Linked DNA regions of Homo sapiens: regions 2 and 3 are each linked to region 1. Evidence: promoter capture Hi-C in 16 types of primary human blood cells and fetal thymus (Javierre and others, 2016). All regions are on one chromosome and are shown on one strand. The core of a region is centred on a gene start or on the middle of the fragment in contact, and the rest is flanking DNA. Distances in the headings are between cores, read along the strand shown.

Region 1 (4,354 bases), core at 1-2,500:
AAATCCGTCCTTCTCCCAAACAATATCATGACGTCCCCACTATCTCAGAAACAAGAATCCAGTCTTGACAAGGTGTAAACATAGAGTTTGTCAGTGTGTTCTTCTGGCCACAAAGGACTTCCAGATATTTATCTCCATCAAAAACTTCCCTGTCTCCCAGGGGAAGTGCAGAGAAACTAAGAACTTAGTTTCTCTAAGTAAAAAAGAAGCAAATGACAAAGCCGAGCGGCGTAGGGCCTGCCACCACTTCCAACCGTTCAGTTCATTCGATACTGCCGGTCGGCTTCCCACTGGAGGTTTTGAATATGGAAAGTGCTGACCTGAAAGATAGGGTCAGGGCTGTAGAATCCTTAAAATAAGCACAGTTTAGAAAAATGCTGGGCTAGGGCACCCAGAAAACTTTTTCACAGGCTGTGGGTAAATCACAGTATCACTGAAGCCACTCCTTTGCCATAAACAACATTTGGAAAAGGGGGAGAGGAAAGGGTGAGCTGGTAACAGGTGAATGGTGGGAAAGTGGAGAGAGACGACCTATCAGTCCTACTGTGCAAATAAATCATGGCCCGGGATCTTGGAGGCCCACGGACACTGTTCTTACGACCCTGCCAGGCCAGCTGGCTAGACCATACCTGCCAGGCTGAAGCGCCGGCCTCTGCGGAATAAGGCGCCTCCCAGAGGCTTGGGAGGAAAAGGGGGGCCTGGGGGAAGGGCAGAGGGAGCTCTCCGCGGAGCAGTGGGGACGGGGCCGCGATGGGGTGCGTCTGAGAGGGCTCTGACGGCTGGAGGGCTGCGGGCGTCCACGGGGGGCAGAGCCCGGCGTCACAGGCGCGGCGGGGTGGGCGGCTCGGGGCACAGACGCCGGCTCCCGAGGGCACGCCGGGTGTCGCCCAGAGGCCTGGATCGCGCGGCAGGAGTAGAGTGCCTGCAGCCGCAGGGGAACTCGGGGGTATTGGGGAGCTCCCAGAAAGAAGCAGCTGGGGCTGCTCCCCCCGGGAACTCGGGATTCGCGGGTCGCGGGAGGAGAGAACCCGAGGTGCGGAGGGCTGGGGAATGTGGGGTCCGGCAGGTGCTGCGCGAAGCTCTCTCTCACCTGCGGAGCACCAGGAAGCCCAAGACGACCAGCAGCAGGAGTCCCAGCGTGCGGGCCGGCCTCCGCCGGAGGCTCCACGTGGTCATCGCGTGTTCTCTAAGCGCGGGGACCCGGGTTCCCACTCCAGTCCGCACTCAGCCGCGCGCGGGAGCCTCGCCGCGGGGGGCGGAGCCGCGCACTGGTCGCCTGGGCAACCGGCCCGCCGGCGCTCATTGGCTGGGGCTCGCGGCTCCGCGCCTGCAGCCCTAGGCCTCGCGCAAGCGGGGGCGGGGCTGGCCGGGGCCGGGGCGGGGCCTCTGTCGGGGGGGGGGCGGGGCGGGGCTGGTGGGCGGGGACGAGGTCTCGGTAGGAGAGGGGGCTGGCGGGGGCGGGGCTGGCGGGGCGGGGCCCCGGCCGGGGGCGGGGCGGGGACAAGGTCTCGGTAGGGGACGGGTCTGGCCGGGGCGGGTCCCCAGTGTCGTGGAGCGGTGCAGAGTCCGCCGTCTTTCTGCTCGCGAGGCGCAGGCGGGTGCGGGAATGCTGCGTACCTGTCAAACGCCGAGGTAAAGTCGCCCCTCGCAGCGCTACATCAGGAAGAACGTACAAAAGGCGTCCGCAAAGCAGGGGCAACCAACAGAATCTTTTAAAACAATTCAGATTCTGAAGCAAACAACTTTTTCAATAACAAATCATCCTGTGAAAAGCCAGGATTTTGAAGAATTGTATCTGGACACATTTCAGTGTGGTTCATGTCTGAGGAGGGGGGGTTCCAAATATTTTCTGTCTTTGGTTTCTGCGAGTCTTACTCTGGCCTTGACTCCAAGGGCTTCCAATTTTTTATTTTAAAAAGGTCCATATAAAACTCTCACATTTTAGGAAAGGAAGAATATCATTCTTATTCTGAAACAGAATGTATGTCCCAAAGAACATGATGTAGTATTTCGGTGCAACTTACACTGTAGCAATCACAAACCCAACTCCTCCCGGGAACAAAATTCAGATTTTACTGAAAGAAACTCGAGGAAGGGCAACGTTTTCCAGAGCATCCGGGTTTGTCGAATGTCTCCCTTGCCGCATGCTTTGAATTCATTTCCTAAACGGGGGCATAGTTTTGAACTTGTAAAGCCGACAGGAACCAAATGAAATTGCAGATCTTGGAACAAAGACACAGACTTGGGTATGAAGTGTCCTTTGTCTAGCGTTAAGCACATATTTAGTCAAGGAGCAAAAGTTAAATCAAAGAGAGGCAAAAACAAACGAACAAACAAGAGGAAAAAAACCCTGGCAGAACTGGGGAGGATAAGCTGGGCTTGGAGCAATCCGGGTCTGACTTAAGCACCGCAAACATTCCCAGAGGCGCGCAGAGGGAGGCCCACTCCCGTGGACGCGCTCCAAGCCCGCTCCTTTTCTCCATTGGGTAAGGCTATGATTGCTTGATGGCTATGAAGTCTGTGATGGAAACATGTTGGTTTAATTGGAATATACCAGCTAGCCCCGAAGCGTGTGGAGAAATTGTCAAAGGCTAGCCCCTTTGCCTGCAGGGGACCATCCGAAAGACATGCACCCCACATTCATCCTCTCACTTCTGGTCACGTTGAACAGTGGCAGAATCTATCAAATATAAGGGAATTCTCAAATGGTTTAAGCAATACAAGCATCTCCATTTTTCTTCAAACGTTAGCAAAAACTTAACATGGGTTGTGAAAACCGTGAACTCCTTGGCCCACCCTTGTATCCTTCGTTTTTATTTGTGCGAGAAAAATATACATAACTGAGTGTTTTCAAAAAAATTTCCCCTTAACCTTGTGGGATGTTCAGAACTAGGGACACACCCTGCTCACAGTCTAGGAACAATTTTACTTTATCTGGGCTTAATGATACCACAGAATGCTACAAAGTTAGCACTAACCCGAGATGCGTCTTGCTCATAGGCTGAGACTTTTTTTTTTTTTTTTGAGACAGAGTCTCACTCTGTTACCCAGGCTGGAGTGCAGTGGTGCAATCTCAGCTCACTGCAATGCCTCCCGGGATGCAAGCTATTCTCCTGCCTCAGTCTCCCGAATAGGTGGGACTGCAGGCACCCACCACCTTCCCCGGCTAATTTTTGTATTTTTAGTAGAGACGGGGTTTCACCATGTTGCCCAGGCAGATCTCAAACTCTTGACCTCAGGTGATCCACCTGCCTCGGCCTCCCAAAGGGCTGGGATTACAGGCGTGAGTCACCATTTCCAGCCTGAGACTTTTGTTTTTTAAAACATTAGGCCGGGTGCGGTGGCTCAAGCCTGAATCCCAGCACTTTGGGAGGCCGAGGGGGGCAGATCACGAGGTCAGGAGATCGAGACCATCCTGGCTAACACGGTGAAACCCCATCTCTACTAAAAATACAAAAATTAGCCGGGCGTAGTGGCGGGCGCCTGTAGTCCCAGCTACTCAAGAGGCTGAGGCAGGAGAATGGCGTGAACCCAGGAGGCAGAGCTTGCAGTGAGCCGAGATCGTGCCACTGCACTCCAGCTTGGGCGACAGAGCGAGACTCCGTCTCAAAAAAAAAAAAAAAAAAAAATTAGCAAGATACTCCTTCAGTGTCTCCTTTCCAAAATGTTTAGTGATCTTAACCCAAAGCAGACAGTGAAAATACTCAAATCCCTGGGAACAAAAGCTACAGTTACAATGAGCTGGCATAAGAGTGGGGTAAAAAAGTGGTCTGCCAAGGTGCTTGGCTTGGTAATGAATCCCTGGTACACAGGAATCATCCTCTTCCCAGGCCTTCTTTCTAGTGTCCAGGGTTTAGAAAATACAAGAAATGCTTTTTAAAAAAGTTAAATCTTGTTGGTGTGCCATTTCCATTGCTCTAAGTCAGAGCTCCAACAGACCCAGAGGGCACAGTTCCTTCCTTGAAAATTCCTGTATCACAGATAATCAGCGGGAAACCGAAACACATACAAAATGCACACACAGGAGAATAAAAACCACACTCGCTCAAAATCAGTACAGTGAAGTCACGTGGGAAAAGCGATCATGTCAAACTAGTCTCATTTGCTGTTTCACTTTTTATTTTTAATAGGTAACAGGTTTACAGATCAGTTATTCATTCACGTAACTCATTTTTGAGGGCACTCTGCTAATGCTTTAAACACAGGATATCTGAATTTTAGGAAAACATTGGCAAAATTTCTTTTAGTCATGAGAATAAGATGAAAAATGTGGCTTCTACGATAGTACAGTCACTTGGGCCCCTGGACCAAGATATAACCCTCTCCTCCCCACCTCCTCCTTATGGACAGACAC
Region 2 (4,354 bases), core at 873-3,372, 340 kb after region 1:
GTTTTCATGTGGCTATTGGTCTTGTATTCTTACAGCACGTGACAGTTTCAAAACATGGTCATATACATTCTCTCAAACATGTGAATGAATGTGGCCCTCACTACAGGGTGTTCAGATGGTTAATTTTATGTGTCAACTTGGCCGGGCCTCAGGGTGCCCAGCTGTTTGGTCAAACAATATTCTGGGTGTTTGTGTGAGGATGTATTGGATGAGATTAACGTTTAAGTTGATGGACTTGGAGTAAAGGAGATTGTCCTCTGGAATATGGGTGGGCTTCAGCCAATCAGCTGAAGGCCTAAATGCAGTAAAAGGCTGACCTCCCCTGAGAAAGAAGGAATTCTGCCAGCCTTTGGACTTGAACCACGACGTGGGCTCTTCCCTGGGTCTCTAGCCTGCTGGCCCACTCTACAAATTTTGGACTTGTCAGCCTCCATAATTGTGTAAGCCAATTCCTTAAAGCCTGGTTTCTCTCTCTCGCTCTCTCTTTCTATACATATATATATATATATTCTATATCTATATCTATCTATGTAACTATATATCTGTATCTATCTATCTGTATTTTATTGACTCTGTCTGCAGACTCCTAACTAATACAGGTGGGTACTATCCCCATTTTACAGACAAAGATTAAATTGAGTCTCAGAAATGTGAGCTATGAATAAGATACTTCTTCATAGCTAGTGAAGAGAACCAAATCCAATGCTTCTAGACTTTCAACCTCGCAGGCTTTCCTTCACTGTCTGCTACCTTTGCTACCCCTCTGCTCTATAATCTTCAAGGATTTTTCACTGCTGAAGGCATCACGCCTGAACTCCTTTCCTTGGCATTTAGGTGCTGCACAGTATGGCTGCGTTTCCTCCTCTCCACTCAGGTATTTCTCCTCAGTGGCACCCCCCTCTGGCACCCACAAGGGAGAAGTAAAGATCTCCTAGTGGTGGCAGAGCCCATTATCCAACCTGGAGAGAAACAGATCATTCCGTAGGCTGACGCTATAATTAAAGGTTAAAGGTATAAATCTGCTGCGCAGATATGATGAAAAGAAAGCATCTCTTAGACTGGGTAGGTCTTTAAATGTAAGCTCCAAGGTGCATGTCCCTGCAGCCTGGAGGGCTGGCGCGTAGGTTCCTGACAGGCGCCAGGGGCCTCTGGTGACGGCGGTGCCCATGTGGCCACTCGCCAGGGCTGCACTGTCTGGAATGGTAGCCACTAGCATATCTGTTTCTTTACATTTTTTTTTTTTTGAGACGGAGTCTTGCTCTGTAGCCCAGGTTGGAGCGTAGTGGCGTGATCTTGGCTGCAATCTCCACCTCGTGGGTTCAAGCAATTCTCCTGCCTCAGCCTCCCAAGTAGCTGGGATTACAGGCACATGACACCACCCCTTTTTGTATTTTTAGTAGAGATGGGCTTTCACTATGTTGGCCAGGCTGGTCTTGAACTCGTGACCTCAGGTGATTCACCCGCCTCAGCCTCTCAAAGTGCTGGGATTACAGGCATGAGCCACCATGTCTGGCCTTTTACATTTAAATTAATGACGATGAAATAGAATTCGAACCTCAGTTCCTCAGGCACATTGGCCATGTTGTAAGTGCTGAGAAGCCCCCTCTGCTTGGCTAGTGGCTGCCATATTGAATGTCTCCATCACTGCAGAAAGTCAAACTGCAAAGCACTGAAGTAGAGAGACCAGTCCCAAGTATGGATCCCAAAGCCCTTGGTCACAGCTGGTTAGTGACAGAGCGAGGACTATGACAGAGAAGGCTGGGGCGAGAGGAGGCTGAGAGCCACAGACCCTTCCAGAAGGACAAAGGAAGCGTCCTCGTGGTTCATGGTGATTGTCTCTGCAATGCCTGGGGGCCAGAGAGAGTAGCCCCCGCCTCAGCTGGGAGGTGCCACCCAGGCCACGGCTCCAGCAGCCTGGGCTGCAGGCAGAAGTTTGGCTCTGCCCCCACACTCCCGGAGCCCCACCCCAGGAAGGCACAGTGGCAACACCACACTGAAGCTACGACTTCAGTCTGAGGTTCACGTGAGCCCCTGGTCCAAGCTTCCAAGTGGTTTCAGCAAATATATTAGATATGCTTGATTGAAATGTGTAGATCAAATGAAAATACATGATACTAGAAAGTTTGACTACAATCTACACTGCAGTTTATATTATTGTAGTCTATCGCTTCTGTGCAAATAAGTTATAACATAATAAAGCTTGCTTAACTTGAAGAAAAAATGAAACACCTATGGATTTGACACAATTTTTTTAAATTTTATTATTATTATACTTTAAGTTTTAGGGTACATGTGCACAAGGTTCAGGTTTGTTACATATGTATACATGTGCCATGTTGGGGTGCTGCACCCATTAACTCATCATTTACATTAGGTATATCTCCTAATGCTATCCCTCCCCACTCCCCCAACCCCACGACAGGCCCCGGTGTGTGAGGTTCCCCTTCTTGTGTCCAAGTGTTTTCATTGTTCAATTCCCACCTATGAGTGAGAACATGCGGTGTTTGGTTTTCTGTCCTTGCGATAGTTTGCTCAGAATGATGGTTTCCAGTTTCATCCATGTCCCTGGGATTTGATACAATTTTATTGAACAGAAGTCTTAGATTCTGAGGACATGGAAATTCCAGCAGCCAGCAGGGCCATTTGCACCCGCAGAAAGAGATGCACTGTGTTAGGAGAAAACAGTTGTCTGCATTTTCTGTTTTTTTGCATTTCTGTCTCATATTTTAAGAATTCCCTTTGAATAATTTCAACCTTGTATCAACTGATCTAAGAAAAACAAATGTTCACACTTTGCAGAGACAGGTTAGTGATCAGATTAACATCTCTAAACGGGGGAGAGGGTGACAGTGGTTCTTCTGACTCCTAATGACCTAGGGCAAGGCTGAGGCAGACTGTGATACCAGCTGGGATTGACACCTGGTGATCCTTTCCTGCCTGGGGTGTTCCCTTCCAGAGAGCATCACGAAGGTGTGGCCTCAGGCAAAATTGTGAAACAAAAATCTTTGTCTCCAGGACTTCCTTCCCCTCCTTCTTCCTAGATACCCTATTCCGGCTTTTTCTCCTCAGGTATTTGATCTACTAGGGTGATAAAATGGCAGTGCGGAAATACTAATGTTTTACTCCTCCCAGGTTGCATATGAATAATAACATTTACATTTTTAACACAAAGCTCTGGAGACAGTGCCAGAATCAAAGGCAGGAGCAGATATCTCGAGTCTCAGCAAGTGGGTGTCTACCTGCGTGCCAGCCGGGCCAGCTCACTGCCATTTCTGAATGCATTTTCTTTTCTTTCTTTTTTCAAATTTCTAATTTTTATTTTAAGTTCAGGGGTACACGTGCAGGATGCGCAGGTTTGTTACGCAGGTAAAGGTGTGCCATGGAGGTTTGCAGCAGAGACCATCGAATCACCCAGGGATGAAGCCCAGCATGCATTGGCTGTTCTTCCTGATAGGCTCCCTCCCCCGACCCCATTGACCTCCGACAGGCCCCGGTGTGTGTTGGCCCCCATGAGTCCGTGCGTTCTCCGAGTGCATTCTCTTCCCACAGCATTGGTTGTCTTGCTCAAGCCCACTGCTCTCCGCAGACAGCCCATGAAGCTGGTTTCCAGATATACCATCAAATTCGAGATTCGCCAAGAAGCCCCAGAGGCTTGACCGACCTGAAGTCCCACGGAGTCAGCAAGGAGATATTTGGGATCAAGTTGAAGGTCAGGCAGTTTTTGAAACACTCTCCTTAAGACCAAGTCCTGGTCAGGGTGGGTCCATCCTTCTGAACCTGAGTGGGTCTGCGCGTGAGACAAGGTAGGATTCTGGAAGCCTAAATCGCAGGTGGTCTGGAGAGGGTGGGGGCTTTGGGGAACGTTCCCACGTGCAATGGCTGCTTCCTATGCTGACGGCCACACCTGATGACGTGCTCAGGGTGTCAGGGGTTGGGCAGAGGGGCCCAGCGTGGGGCTAGCCGCAGAGCCCTGCTGGGGGGCTGCACACTGTCAGACTTCTAGATTCCGGAGACAGGATGTGGTGGGTGGGGTGGGGTCAGGGGAGGGTTGGGAGCTGACAGGGCAAGGGCCCTGGGATGTGTCTCTGATTAAGCAGGCTGGAGGTTGAGAGGGCCCCGCACCCCTGTGGACTGAGGCAGCAGCCTGGTCATAGGAATAACGTCTTGGTGGCTGTGTTGGTGCCCAGCGCTTTCCCCTAGGAATGCCAAAGGCCAACGGGGCTTTTGCCAAACAAATTCCAGAGACACCTCTCCCCGTAGTGGGAAGAGCTTGTTCTACCTCGCATCTTTCAGTGCCCAGCATAGCATCTGGCACATTGCAGGCTCCAAACATAGGTCTAATAAACACTGACGG
Region 3 (4,354 bases), core at 1,047-3,546, 270 kb after region 1:
TTGCACTGTCCCTGTGCCCCAGGCCTACCACCAGCTGCTGCCCAAGACAGAACACAGGAAGGAAACAGGAAACTCTGCTGAGCTTGGAGGTACAAGATTCTCCTTGTGCACTCCCCACAGGGAAGGAGTGGCCACCCCCACCACCACTGGCCCAATATCAGCTCCCTCATTTTTCATCTGGATTGTTAAAATGATCTGTAGGTATGTCTTCCTGTATCTAGATGTTTCTTTTCAAAACTGTGACTAGGGCCTAGAACAGTAAGAGGTGCTCAATAAGTATCTCTGGAATGAATGAATATAAGACTCCTGCGCCCTGCAGAGCTAACATCTGCTCACGTCGTGCTGCTTGAAATTCTTGGCACCTTCAGCATGTAGCTAACACCCCTTAGTACAGCAGGCCCCGACGTTTTCGGCACCAGGGCCCAGTTTTGTGGAAGACAAGCTTTCCACGGAAGGGTTGGGTGGGGCAGTGTTTCCGGATGAAGCTGTTTCACCTCAGATCATCAGGCTTTTTAGTTAGATGCTCATAAGGAGCGTGCAACTTAGATCCCTCATGTGCGCAGTTCGCAAAAGGGTTTGTGCTCCTATGAGACTAATGCAGACCTGGCAGGAGGCAGAGCTCAGGCAGTCATGCTCTCCTTCCCACCCCTCACCTCCCGCTGTGCGGCCCAGCTGGTAACAGCTACCTGTCCACGGCCTGGGGAGTGGGGACCCCTGCCTTAGTACGACTAAAGAAGTCATGGATGAAAAAACACACCCTATGTTCCTGAGCATCACAACTTCCGCATCTCATACCACCCCCTCATCTACTGCCTTGAATCTAGCTCCGCTGAGTCAGCTGTGGTTCTTAAAACTTGCCAGGTTCTTGCGAGCCACTGCAGTTGCCAACGCAGTCCTTGCTGCCTGTATTATCCTCCCCGTCAGCCTGGTGTCGCTGAAAAGACTCAAACTCGGTAAAACATTTGAAGAGATTTATCCCGAGCCAAATATAAGTTACCATTGGCCCATGATGCAGCCCGCAAGAGATCCTGAGAACAGGTGCCCAAGGTGGTCAGGCACAGCTTGCTTTTAGACATTTTAGGGAGACAGCAGACATCAATCAATACATGTAAGATGTCCATTGGTTTGGTCTAGAAAGGCAGGACAACTCGGGGATTCCAGGTCATGGGTAGATAAGAGACAAAAGGCTGCATTATTTTGGGTCTTTAATCAGCCTTTCACTGAAATCACAACTTACATGTGAGAGAGGCGTAGAGGAATAGTCATGTATGCCTTAGTCCAGCTCAGTGAATCTGCATTTTTACATAAACAATAGAGCAGAAGAAGCAAACAGATATGCATTTGTCTCAGGTGAGCACAGGGATGACTTTCTATCCTGTACCTGTGAAGATGAGCTATCAATTTACATGGCCAAGGTGAAATTCAACAGAACTATTTTTAGAGTAAAGACCTTGAGGCCCACAAGGAATTTCCTTGTGGGCAGATTGTGAGGGAGGTATGTATCTTTAATATCTTTATAGCTATTTATTTAGGAACAAAACGGGAGGCAGGCTTGCCTGATAGTTCCCAGCTTGACTTTTCAGCTTAGTGATTTTGGGGTCCCAAGATTTATTTTCCTTTCACACTAGTCAGTTTCCTAACATCACCATGTCCTCTTGGAACCCCTTTCAGCATCATATCCTCATGGTAGAACTTCCTGGCCCCAGAGTCCCCTCCAGGATGGTTTGGGTGGACCTCCTGTGTGCTTCTGTAACACTGTGGGTGCGTCTCTCCCACACTCCATTGCATTGGATTGTAATTCCATATTTTTACTGTGATTCTAGTTCAGACTTCTAGAGTCTAATGCTGTGTTCAATCTCCTCCTTTGCTAATGTGTATGTTTGAAGCTATAATCCTTTCTAAGTACTGCAGTAGCTACATCCCACAATTTGTAATACACACTGTCTTCACTGTCACTAAGTCCCAAGTATTTTATAATTTCATTTGTCATCTCTACTTGACCACTTATCATTTAGAAGTCTGCTTTATAAGCTTCTCAATATATGAAGCCTGGGCTTGTGTTACCATCAATGACTGCCTTGGTCAGAGAACAAGGTCCATATAAAATCAATGCTTTTGTATTTGTTGAGCCTGACATTATGGCTTACTAATGGTTAATTGTTTTAAATGTGCCGTGTGTATTCTCAAATGTTTGGGCTTAGAGTTCTAAATATGTACCTATTCAGTTCAATTTCTTTATTATGCTACTTAAAACTTTACTACCTTTGCTTACTTTTTTTTTGTTTTTTGGCTTCAGCTATCAATTCCTGGAAAAGGTTTGTTAAATATCACTCTATGATTATGGATTTCTCAGCATCTCAGTATAATTCTATCAAGGTGCTTTTTATTCTTCACCATGCAGCATGCCAGTTTGGGAAAGTGATACCACGCTGGCGACGTGAGGAAGCACATGACCTCCCTCTTCCCAAGGGTTCCACCCTCTTCCTTCCTCCTTATCCCTCAGGCTCAACCCGCGAAATGCCACTCTGGCCTCAGAGCATCTCCTTTCATTCCCAAGCTTCCTGAAGCCTTAGTTCCTCTCCCAAATAGTCCTATAACATTTTCTTCCAAACAAACATGTTCCTCTTGAATGAATCTACGACAAACACAATGCTCCCTATCACATTGTGGAGTCCTAATTAGGGAAAAGGAGTCAGGCTGGCACCACCAGGAGAAAGCAAAGAGATAGAGGAAGCAGATAAGCTATAGACCTGCCTTCCCTCATGGTCCGGAACATATAGACAAAAAGAGGAAGGAGATAAGTTATAGGCCTGCCTTTCTTTATGGCCCAGGACATGCAGCCCTCCTGAGCAGATAAGGTGCAGAACTCACAGGCTTCCTGCTGGTCATCAAATGCCTCAATTTGTCAAACACCTCAGCTGATAGAAGAATGCAGGTTAGCTCACTGCTACCTTGGCATTATCAATTCGCCCAACAACCACCCTATAAAAATCCCCAGCCAGCCTTTGTCTCTTCGCAGTCAGCTTCTCTCCTGCTGGTTTTGCCCACTGCTCCCTGGCAACGTACAATGTACTTTCCTACTTTCTTTTTTCTTTTCTTTTTTTTTTCGAGATGGGGTTTTGCTCTTGCTGCCCAGGCTAGAGTGCAATGCCGTGATCTTGGCTCACTGCAACCTCCACCTCCCGGGTTCAAGCAATTCTTCTGCCTCAGCCTCCTGAATAGCTGGGATTACAGGCATGCACCACCACACCCAGCTATTTTTGTATTTTTAGTAGAGACAGGGTTTTGACATGTTGGCCAGGCTGGTCTTGAACTCCCAACCTCGGGTGATCCACCCGCCTCGGCCTCCCAAAGTGCTGAGATTACAGGCGTGAGCCACCATGTCCGACCTTGGTAAATTCTTTTACCCCTCACCACTGGCCAAGATACTCGTGGCTTACTATGACACATATCATGTCAGAGTTATGGTTTCCACATCATATCTTCCAATCGGACCACCAGTTCAGGAAGGGCCTCATCTCAGGCATCCCGGGGGGTGTACCACACAGTGTTGTTCAAGAAACACGTTAGAATGCTAAGAAAAACACTCACACAGGTGTCATAAGGGCGTGCATTGCAGAACCACCTATGAAGCATTTTGGGAATAAAATAATATCTTCGTGCTTAGAATAATTGAGAAAATTTTCTTCCTAAAGATGGGGAAAGACTTGGAGTAACTCTTGATAATCACCTAACACTATTTAACTGTTCTTCTAGCAAACTTTATGTTGTGTTTGTGCCTCGGACTGAGCTAGGAACTCAGCACCAGAGAGAGCTTGGACACAGTTTTGTTTCATTTTGTTTTTTTGTTTTTGTTTTGTTTTGTTTTATTTTTCCCCTCAAAGAATCCATGTTCCCATGGAAGAGATGGGAAGAAAAATCAATATTTTTTTTCTTGGGGATCCAGGAAACCTCAGAATGATGGAGTCTGCCATACTACCACATTGTACAGAGAAATTCTGAATAAGAGGGCAGAAAAATTAAAATGCACATGGAGCTTGAAATAGAGAAATAAACCTCCAAGTCACCAACACAGGAAGGAATTCAAAGCCAAAATAAATTTGCAAGTCAGAGCCACGATAGTATGAGGAGGAGGAGGAGGTCCTAGAAAGAGTTAGGGGAGCAGCTCTGACCCACCCAGTGGGTCAGAGAGACCCTAGGGCCCGTTCCAAGCAGGACTTTGGAACCGACATCCTGCTCCCTCAGGGGAAGGTGGCCAGGAAAAAACTCCATCCTTCAGTTTCTGCCCTAGGTTCTGGGAGAGAAGAAAAACCATTTCCTGTGGGAAACTCAAGTCTCAGCCAGATGTGGTAGC

The links. Contacts are between HindIII fragments. The CHiCAGO score rates a contact against its expected background, and 5 or more counts as called.
Region 2: a fragment that was not itself captured here is called in contact with the fragment with the promoter of GLB1L2 in region 1 in 2 of 17 cell types (naive CD8 T cells and activated CD4 T cells); the score reaches 5.5 in naive CD8 T cells.
Region 3: a fragment that was not itself captured here is called in contact with the fragment with the promoter of GLB1L2 in region 1 in 8 of 17 cell types (naive CD8 T cells, total CD8 T cells, naive CD4 T cells and 5 more); the score reaches 8.6 in naive CD8 T cells.

The regions. Positions count from the first base shown.
Region 1 is chr11:134,328,884-134,333,237 of GRCh38, reverse strand. GLB1L2 (galactosidase beta 1 like 2) reads right to left here and starts at 1,250. Exons shown (of 19, transcript NM_001370461.1): 1 at 1,091-1,250. The coding sequence starts at 1,176. RefSeq lists a silencer at 1,101-1,400. The HindIII fragment of the contact is 5,891 bases long and covers 1-4,354 here.
Region 2 is chr11:133,990,919-133,995,272 of GRCh38, reverse strand. No RefSeq gene overlaps it. Among named protein-coding and RNA genes, the nearest start is that of LINC02730, 15 kb to the left of the region's middle. RefSeq lists an enhancer at 1,138-1,638. The HindIII fragment of the contact is 158 bases long and covers 2,044-2,201 here.
Region 3 is chr11:134,058,957-134,063,310 of GRCh38, reverse strand. No RefSeq gene overlaps it. Among named protein-coding and RNA genes, the nearest start is that of JAM3, 7.9 kb to the left of the region's middle. The HindIII fragment of the contact is 526 bases long and covers 2,034-2,559 here.